Regions from separate parts of the Homo sapiens genome. Here regions 2 and 3 are each linked to region 1. The links are contacts of gene promoters, found by promoter capture Hi-C in human tissues and cell types (Jung and others, 2019). All regions are on one chromosome and are shown on one strand. Each heading gives the region's core, a stretch centred on a gene start or on the middle of the fragment in contact. The rest is flanking DNA. Distances are from core to core; before and after follow the strand shown.

The links. Contacts are between HindIII fragments. The study calls those that stand out against the background at their distance.
Region 2: a fragment that was not itself captured here is called in contact with the fragment with the promoter of RABEPK in region 1 in 2 of the 25 tissues and cell types used here (adrenal gland and dorsolateral prefrontal cortex).
Region 3: a fragment that was not itself captured here is called in contact with the fragment with the promoter of RABEPK in region 1 in 1 of the 25 tissues and cell types used here (IMR-90 fibroblasts).

What each region holds. Positions count from the first base shown.
Region 1 is chr9:125,199,120-125,201,971 of GRCh38, reverse strand. It overlaps RABEPK (Rab9 effector protein with kelch motifs), which reads right to left and starts at 1,430. Exons shown (of 8, transcript NM_005833.4): 1 at 1,066-1,430. It overlaps LOC105376271 (a long non-coding RNA gene), which reads left to right and starts at 1,576. Exons shown (of 2, transcript NR_135145.1): 1 at 1,576-1,746; 2 at 2,317-2,439. RefSeq lists a silencer at 1,503-1,552. The HindIII fragment of the contact is 10,811 bases long and covers 1-2,852 here.
Region 2 is chr9:125,056,840-125,059,691 of GRCh38, reverse strand. All of the region lies in intron 2 of SCAI (suppressor of cancer cell invasion), which reads left to right. Among named protein-coding and RNA genes, the nearest start is that of SCAI, 85 kb to the left of the region's middle. The HindIII fragment of the contact is 7,319 bases long and covers 1-2,852 here.
Region 3 is chr9:125,329,490-125,332,341 of GRCh38, reverse strand. It overlaps GAPVD1 (GTPase activating protein and VPS9 domains 1), which reads right to left. Exons shown (of 28, transcript NM_001282680.3): 13 at 2,124-2,264; 14 at 282-416. Among named protein-coding and RNA genes, the nearest start is that of GAPVD1, 69 kb to the right of the region's middle. The HindIII fragment of the contact is 9,933 bases long and covers 1-2,852 here.

The DNA of each region.
Region 1 (2,852 bases), core at 181-2,680:
TACAGGCGTGAGCCACTGAGCCCGGCCATTTATTTATTTTTTAATTAAAAATAGAAACGGGGCTGGGAGCAGTGGCTCACGCCTGTAATCCCAGCACTTTGGGAGGCCGAGGCAGGCGGATCATGAGGTCAGATCGATACCATCCTGGCCAACATGGTGAAACCCTGTCTTTACTAAAAATACAAAAAAAATTAGCTGGGCGTTGTGGCCCACGCCTGTAGTCCCAGCTACTCAGGAGGCTGAGGCGTGAGAATTGCTTGAACCCAAGAGGCGGAGGTTGCAGTGAGCCGAAATTGCGCCACTTGCACTCCAGCCTGGCGACAGAGCAAGACTCCTCCTCAAAAAAAGAAAAAAAAATAGAAATGGAGGTTTCGCTTTGTTGTCCAGGCTGGTCTCGAACTCCTAGCCTCAGGCAATTCTTCCACCTCAGCCTCCTAAAAAGCTGGGATTACAGGTGTGAGCCACTGCTCTCCGCTCAAAGGACAAAATATTTAAAGAAGCTGAGAAATACTGAGCTCTGGGATAAATCTTGGCCTCAACATAGCATAGAAAGTAAGGCCTTCTGCTGTTGAGCTTTTTTCCCGTGAACTCACCTCCACAATCTCTTGCATTATTGGTTTTTTTGCTGTTCTTGTAATATGGCAGGCCTTTTCATAATTTTGCAGCCTGTTCTGCTTCCCCTATTTGGAATGTCGCTTCCCTTCTGGGAAATTTGCAAACTCCTAGTTAACCTTCAAAGCCCAGTTCAAAAGTCCCTTCCCTGGTGAAACCTTCCCTGATTTGCCCTTTTCTCTTCCACCCACATCCAAGTTACTTCCTTCTTCCACCCACTGGGCTCTGAAGGTATTAGCCATCACCATTGCAGGAATCATTTGGAATGTTTATCTATTTAAGGCTTCTAGACTAGATTCTAGATTAAATTCCACTAGACTAAGTTCCTAGAGGGCTGGGCCTGTCAGATCCATTCCGAGAACCTACCAATGGACCTGGCATGGAGTAGAAGTGGGGGAGTGGCTAGTGAATGAAGAAAGAAAATAGATTGAGAGATGAATGGATAAATCTCACCTGCGGCCTAGGCCACTGACAGCTGTCCCCAAAGTCCAGAGCTCAGTTAGGCTGGCTTCACGTGGGCGGGACCTCCCGCAGCAGCCGCCGCTACCAGCCCAGCAAATCTCATCCCCACGTGGCAGTTCTAGGGGATAGGAGACGGGGTCGGGAAAGAACAGGCTGATTCGGTCAAAGTGGCCGGGACGGAGCCAGGGAAGGCCCTTCCCCGTTCTTTGCACCCGGCTTGGGCCCACTCCCCTAAAAGATTCAGACTCCCTGCCCGAGACCGTGATAGACCCGGTATCCGGGGACCCTCGCCCCTACCCTCCAGCCCCGGACTGCAATACCTGCGGCGACTTAGGCCAGTCGCGAGCCGTGACTCCACCCCGGAGGGGCGGGGCTTAGGTCCGGGCCCTCCTCCCAGGACCCGGAAGAGCGTCCGGGCCAACCGCTCCCTCTTCCCTGCTCCGCCCCGAGGGCCCGGCGCTGACTTCCTGGGCTGGCGGTGGAGGGGTCCCCCAGACCGGGAGTGGACGCCAGGCTCTGCATTTCTCGGGAACCAAGTGGGGTGGGCCTTCCCTGGGTCCCTCCCTCCCGGACGGGATAAATAAGCCGGGGCTACTTGGAAACGATTTGCGCAATGCCGGGTTCGGGCGTCCGTTTGGGGAACTCAGATGCCTGCGGCAGCTGATCTACTCTGTAAGGGGCTAACAGGGCTGGGCGCCACCACACTCCAGCTTGGGCAACAGCGCAAAAACTCCCTCTCAAAAAAATAAATAAATAAAAGGGGGGGAGGGTATAACAGTTACATTTCCAGTTACAACGATTGTTTTTTTTTTTTTTTTTTGAGACGGAGTCTCGCTCTGTCGCCCAGGCGGGACTGCGGACTGCAGTGGCGCAATCTCGGCTCACTGCAAGCTCCGCTTCCCGGGTTCACGCCATTCTCCTGCCTCAGCCTCCCGAGTAGCTGGGACTACAGGCGCCCGCCACCGCGCCCGGCTAATTTTTTTTGTATTTTTAGTAGAGACGGGGTTTCACCTTGTTAGCCAGGATGGTCTCGATCTCCTGACCTCATGATCCACCCGCCTCGGCCTCCCAAAGTGCTGGGATTACAGGCGTGAGCCACCGCGCCCGGCCACAACGATTGTTAACAGTTTCTAAAGGGGAGAGTTGAGCATGCAATCCTCCTGCGCAGTCTTCGGGCCAGCTCAAGATTTGGTGCTTTAAACAGCTGATTCATTCCATAATTGCCATTTGTAATTATGGCAGGTGCTATGCTGAGCCAGACACCACCACGCTTTGCCTCCAGGAGCAAGTCTTAACTAGAGAGAGATCAAAGAAAAAGACAACTAGGGACGACTGCCAAGAGTGCAATAAATATAAAGTTCAGCCAGGAGAGTATCTGTTCTGAAGTTACTTTCCTCCAGGCCTCAGGGTTGTCTGTTTGTAACCATGGAGCTAATAAGATTTCTATCATAGGCTGGGCGCGGTGGCTCACGCCTATAAGTCCAGCACTTTGGGAGGCCGAGGCGGGCGGATCACGAGGTCAGGAGTTCGAGACCAGCCTGGCCTACATGGTGAACGCCCCCGCCCCCCCCCCCAACTAAAAACACAAAAATTAGCTAGGCGTGGTGGTGGGCGCCTGTAATCCCTGCTACTCAGGAGGCTGAGGCAGGAAAATTGCTTGAATCTGGGAGGCGGAGGTTGCAGTGAGCCGAGATAGTGCCACTGCACTCCAGCCTGGGTGACAGAGCCAGACTCCGTCTCAAGAAAAAAAAAAAAAAAAGAGAGATGTATGTAGTAGT
Region 2 (2,852 bases), core at 174-2,673, 140 kb after region 1:
TAATTGATAGATCTCATAGAATGACCATTTAATGTCCCCTCATACATTCAGGGAAACTTATGGGTTTGAACTAATTTACACTGCCTCTAGCAACTATGCTGGTTTCAGTGCATGTTCAACTGCTATAATTAGTGTAGTTTTAATGTGCTCATTTTGCTGCATTAGGTTTGTATTTTGTTACTGTATTTTACTGTGTTTGTATTTTGTTCACCAATTCATCATTGGTGGTTGAACATTTTTCTTATTAACATTGAAATTTACTCCTGTCTAGTCCTTAGACCCCATTCAGGCCTTACCAGTTGTCTCAATAACATCCTTTACAGCAGAAGGATCCAGGGGAGAATCAGGCATTATACCTCAGTTTTCCCTTGTCTTTGAAGGAAAGTACTTGACATTTTTGAAGATTACAGGTTGGTTATTTTGTAGAATGTCCCCCAACTTGGTTTTGTCTGTTTCCTCATGATTAGACTCAGGCTACAGAACTTTGACAGGAACAGTACTTCTCATCGCATGGGACTTTGATTTGTCTGATTACTAATGATGTTCACTTTGATCATTTGATCAAGGCAGTGTCTGCTGGATTTTACTGCTGTGAAATTACTTTTTCCCTTGGAAGTAATGTGTAGTTTATGGGGGAAGTATTCTGAAACTATCCCATTCACTACCACACTTTCCATTTATTCACTCATTTATTTATATCTATATTGATTCATGATTTCTTATTTTGTTCAGTAGGTTATAATCCATTGCTATTACTATTGGTATTGATGCTGAAATTACCCTGTTTGGCCAGTGGGATCTCCTTCAAGCTTGATCCTATGTCTTTTTGACATTCTTTAGCATTCCTTGAGCACTTTCTTGCTTACTACCACAAGATATTCCAGATTGATCCTGTACTTTTTCTACCCCTGTGCTGTAATTAGTGAATTACAATTCTCCAGAGATGTCTGGTTCCTTTTATTGGAGAATGGTATTAGGGGCCAAGTGTTAGGTGCTAGAAACGTTCATACCACTGGGGAGGGAAGATGATCACTGCTCCAAGGCGCTCTCAGTAGATAGAATTACAGAGCTAGGGAGTATGCATCTGTGTGTGCTTATGTAGACACACACACCATGCATGTATGTCCATGTCTTCAGAAATCCATGAGTTCACTCATACTTACAGTTTATTTTTTTTGAAACGCAGTCTCGTTCTGTCGCCCAGGCTGAAGTACAGTGGCATGATCTCAGCTCACCTCAACCTCCGCCTCCCGGGTTCACGTGATTCTCCTGCCTCAGCCTTCCTAGTAGCTGGGGACTGCAGGCACACCCCACCATGCTGGGCTAATTTTTGTATTTTTTGGTGGAGATGGGTTTCACCATGTTGCCCAGGCTGGTCTCAAACTCCTGACCTCAAATGATCCACCCACCTTGGCCTCCCAGAGTGCTGGGATTACAGGCATGAGCCACTGTACCTGGCCCAGTTTCAATCCACAGAGTTCATTCTAACTTCTTCCATTTCCATATTTGCATCTCCCTTCTCTGCCAAGTGAGAACTCTGGGTCCCATTGCCTTTAATAAATCTTTTTTAAAAAAGAATTTTTTTTTTTTAAAGAAATGGGGTCTCATTCTGTCACTCAGGCTGAAGTGCAGTGGAGGGATCATAGCTCTCTGCACCCTTGAACTGCTGGCCTCAGTCGACTCTCCTGCCTCAGCCTCCTGAGTATCTGAGGTAGCTGAGTAGGCACCTGCCACCACATCTGGCTAATTTTTACATTTTTTGTAGAGACAAGATCTCACTGTATTGCCCAGGCAGGTCTCAAACTCCTAGCCTCAAGTGATCCTCCTGCTTCTGCCTCCCAAAGTGCTGGGATTACAGGCGTGAGCCACTGCATCTGCCCTTAATAGATCTTATTTGATCCTTCCCTCTTTATATAGCAAATCTCCCATTGCTGCTTTGAACCCTTCTATGTGGAGGTGCTCAGGCTCCTACTTTCCCTGCCAGTCCTCCACCCTCATGGGTGCCCTCCTCCTCCTCCACACTCGGCCTTCAACATCCTGTGCAAGCTGGCTCTGCCTGCGAATGGCCTCCTCACGTAGCTTATATTCCGACAACCATGCAGGTACCCTGTGATGTGGATACCCACTTGGTGGCTATAAGAGTGAATTTTTCAGGAAGGGAAGAGAATTCTGATTTCCTAAGTTTTACTTTAATGGTTCTAGCTGTGGGATTATTTTGACATTCTTTGAGTCCTTTCAATTTTAGGTGTTACATTTTCTCTAATTCTGGGAAATTTAGTCATTATTTCTGCAAATATTTCTTCACTCTCATTTGTGTTTTTCTCTCCTCCTGTGTAAGCTATTGTGTGGCAGTTGATTTCCCTCATTTCTCTATCTTATCTCTTGCTTTTTCTTTTATATATTTAATCTCTTTCTACTGTCTTTTGGCAGAGTACCCCAAATCTGATATTTTAGCTTATTTATTTGTTCAACTGTATCCTTTCTGTTCTTCAGTCCATCTATTAAAATTCATTATTTCACCAATTGTATCACATTATTTCAGTGACTATATTTTGTCTGCCTATTTTTACATCCTACACCAGGACCAAATTTTCCTGTTGTTCCAGGAATTTCTGTCTGTGTGTAAACACAAATCAGTTTTTAAAATTTAGGTTTGTATTGTACATACTGTCTGACAACTTACTGTTGTTTTCTGTTTTTACATGGCAGCTTTATGAAATTTATTACAAGTGGAGATAGTTTCAATATAGTTTTAATATACGTCTGTGTGTGTACGTGTGTGTGTATGTATATGTGTGTGTGTGATTTTATATCCCTTTTATACTGAAGTGTACTCATACCATTGCCTCACC
Region 3 (2,852 bases), core at 143-2,642, 130 kb before region 1:
TTGCTTTACACAACATAATCAGAATCGTACAATTCTAAAGTAGGACAGGCTACTAAGAACAGAAACAGTTGTAGAGAGACTGTTTGCCAATTACTTCAACAGGCTCCATAAGGCCACACATTAAGTTCTCAAAGATTTCAGGTGCAATGGAAATAAGTTTGTTTTCTGGAAATTACTCAGCTCTTAAATATAACATATCTTTTTGTATCAACTTTATAAATAGGAGGGGGTAGGGGGTGAACACCTTCAAATCCCTACTCCTTAAAACAAGACAGACATACCGGACACAACACTGAGGCCTGGTGTGCTGGGGCGGGAACTGACCTCCCTGACATCCGTATCATCAGATGTGCTACCCAGTCCAGAACAGCTCTCCAGTTCTTGCAGACGCTCCTCCTGCTTTAGGTCTGGGGCCTCTAAATAGAAGATAAGAGGTATGTTACATTTGTGATTCTCTTAGCACACCACAATTTCAGCTTTTGTGACCCAGATAAACAAAGCTACCAGGGCATGAATAAAATCAGTGCAAATACATGTGTAAGTCTGGACTAGTTAATGCTAGTTAGATTAAGTGTTAAGTCAAAGTTGTGATTTTCATCCCAATATAAGCCAGTTCACTGTGCACAGATGAAAACGTGGTTCTAGATCACTAATGTCACAGAGTATGCTATTGATTAACATGTGAACTGGACAAGAGAGTATGGAATAGCCTGGTATTAAATCAACCACTTCCTAAAAAGTAACTCCTATGAATACTCAACAGCTGGTAAGCTAATCCTATTGTCCCCAACTGGTCTTCAAACAAGGCTAGCATATCTGAATGCTTTAACATTATAAAACAGGCCAGCCGTGGTAGCTCACACCTGTAATCCCAGCACTTTGGGAGGTCGAGGCCGGCAGATCACCTGAGGTCAGGAGTTCGAGACCAGCATGCCCAACACGGTGAAATCCCATCTCTACTAAAAATACAAAAACTAGCTAGGCGTGGTGGCAGGTGCCTGTAATCCCAGCTACTTGGGAGGCTGAGGCAAAAGAATCACTTGAACCCAGGAGGCAGAGATTGCACTGAGCCGTGATTGCACCACTGCACTCCAGCCTGGGTGACAGAGTGAGACTCCATCTCAAAAAAAAAAAAAATTATAAAACACATATCAGGATCACTTAATAATTCTTGAACCAAGTAAATCAACAGAATGTAATGCAGATACACAGTTACTTATATTTACATTCTGGTAGTTGACATTTAGTTGAAAGCAAAGATGCGTCTTCATAATCAGAAAAAAATGCAATGCATATGAAAAGACAAAGTACAAAACACTTTATATACATTTATAATAACCTGCACAAAAAAAAAATCCTCAGGATTACAGAATCTCAATTTCAACGTATTTCAAAAACACATTAAGCATGTTTTAGAGAGTCAAGTTCTCCCCTGTGATAAATCTAAATGTGTTTACCAAGCAAGCACTCAGTTTGAACTGTGTTGCTACTCTTATCCTGTCATGAGTTTGTGGAAGATACTAAATTCAATGATTCACACGGACTCTGATAATCACAGAAAATTGCTTTCAAAATAACTCAACACAGAGTCTGAAAGCACCTGCCATCACAGTCTATGCTATCTAACAGAGCATTTTCCCTTAATGGACAGAAAATGCCCTAAACTAATTTTCCATTTGACATTCTTAGCAATGTGATCACCTCATCTTTGTCAAATGTATAACTGGCTGGGCATGATGGCTCATGCCTGTAATTCCAGCACTTCGGGAGGCCAAGGTGGGCAGATCACCTGAGGTCAGTAGTTCAAGACCAGCCTGGCCAACATGGTGAAACCCTGTTTCTCTAAAAATACAAAAATTACCCGGCATGGTGGGGCATGTCTGTAATCCCAGCTACTCAGGAGGCTGAGGCGAGAAGACTGCTTGAACCCAGGAGGCAGAGGTTGCAGTAAGTTGGGATCGCGCCACAGCACTCCAGCCTGGGTAAAAGAGCAAGACTCCATCTCCATTAAAAAAAAAAAAAAAGTGTATTTGACAAAATATACATAATACAGAGTTGGGATACCTTGCATTTAATTAAAACTTCTGTATAAATGAAAAAGCAAACAATGACAGCATACTAACCTGAGTCACTTGGCAATACCTCTACACTCCAAGCTTCACTTGTTGTCTCTGATATGGTAGAACCAGTGCAGGGGTCAAGAAGCACTGACCCTGAACCTGGGAGGCACAGCAAACTGCCTAACATGTTCTCTGCTGCAGCACCTGTATAACCAGTGGGAAGCAAAGGGTTAACAAAGATCCTGGAGGAAAGTGCAGTGATAGTGGAGAAAAGCCAAACACTAGCTAACAAAATCTCCTGGCTGGGCGCGGTGGCTCACACCTGTAATCCCAGCACTTTGGGAGGCTGAGGCAGGCAGATCACTTGAGGCCAGGAGTTCAACACCAGCCTGGCCAACATGGCGAAACCCCGTCTCTACTGAAAATACAAAAATTAGCCAGGTATGGTGGCGTGCACCGGTAGTCTCAGCTACTTGGGAAGCTGAGGCACAAGAACCCGGGAGGCAGAGGTTGCAGGGGGTGCAGAGACTGCAGTGAGCCGAGGTCATGCCATTGCCCTCCAACCTGGTCAATGTGAGTGAGACCCTGTCTCAAAAATAAAAATGGCCGTGTCATTTTGGGACTTTGTCTCAAAAAAAAAAAAAAAACCACCAAATTCCTCTCTACCTACAAGAAAGAGGCCAAAGTAAGAATAACTTCAATCAAGCACACCACTAAAAACACAAGTTCCTACTTTGGTCACAATGGCACAATACCCTTTTCACCAGTTTCCTCCAGTTCACCTTTGACTCT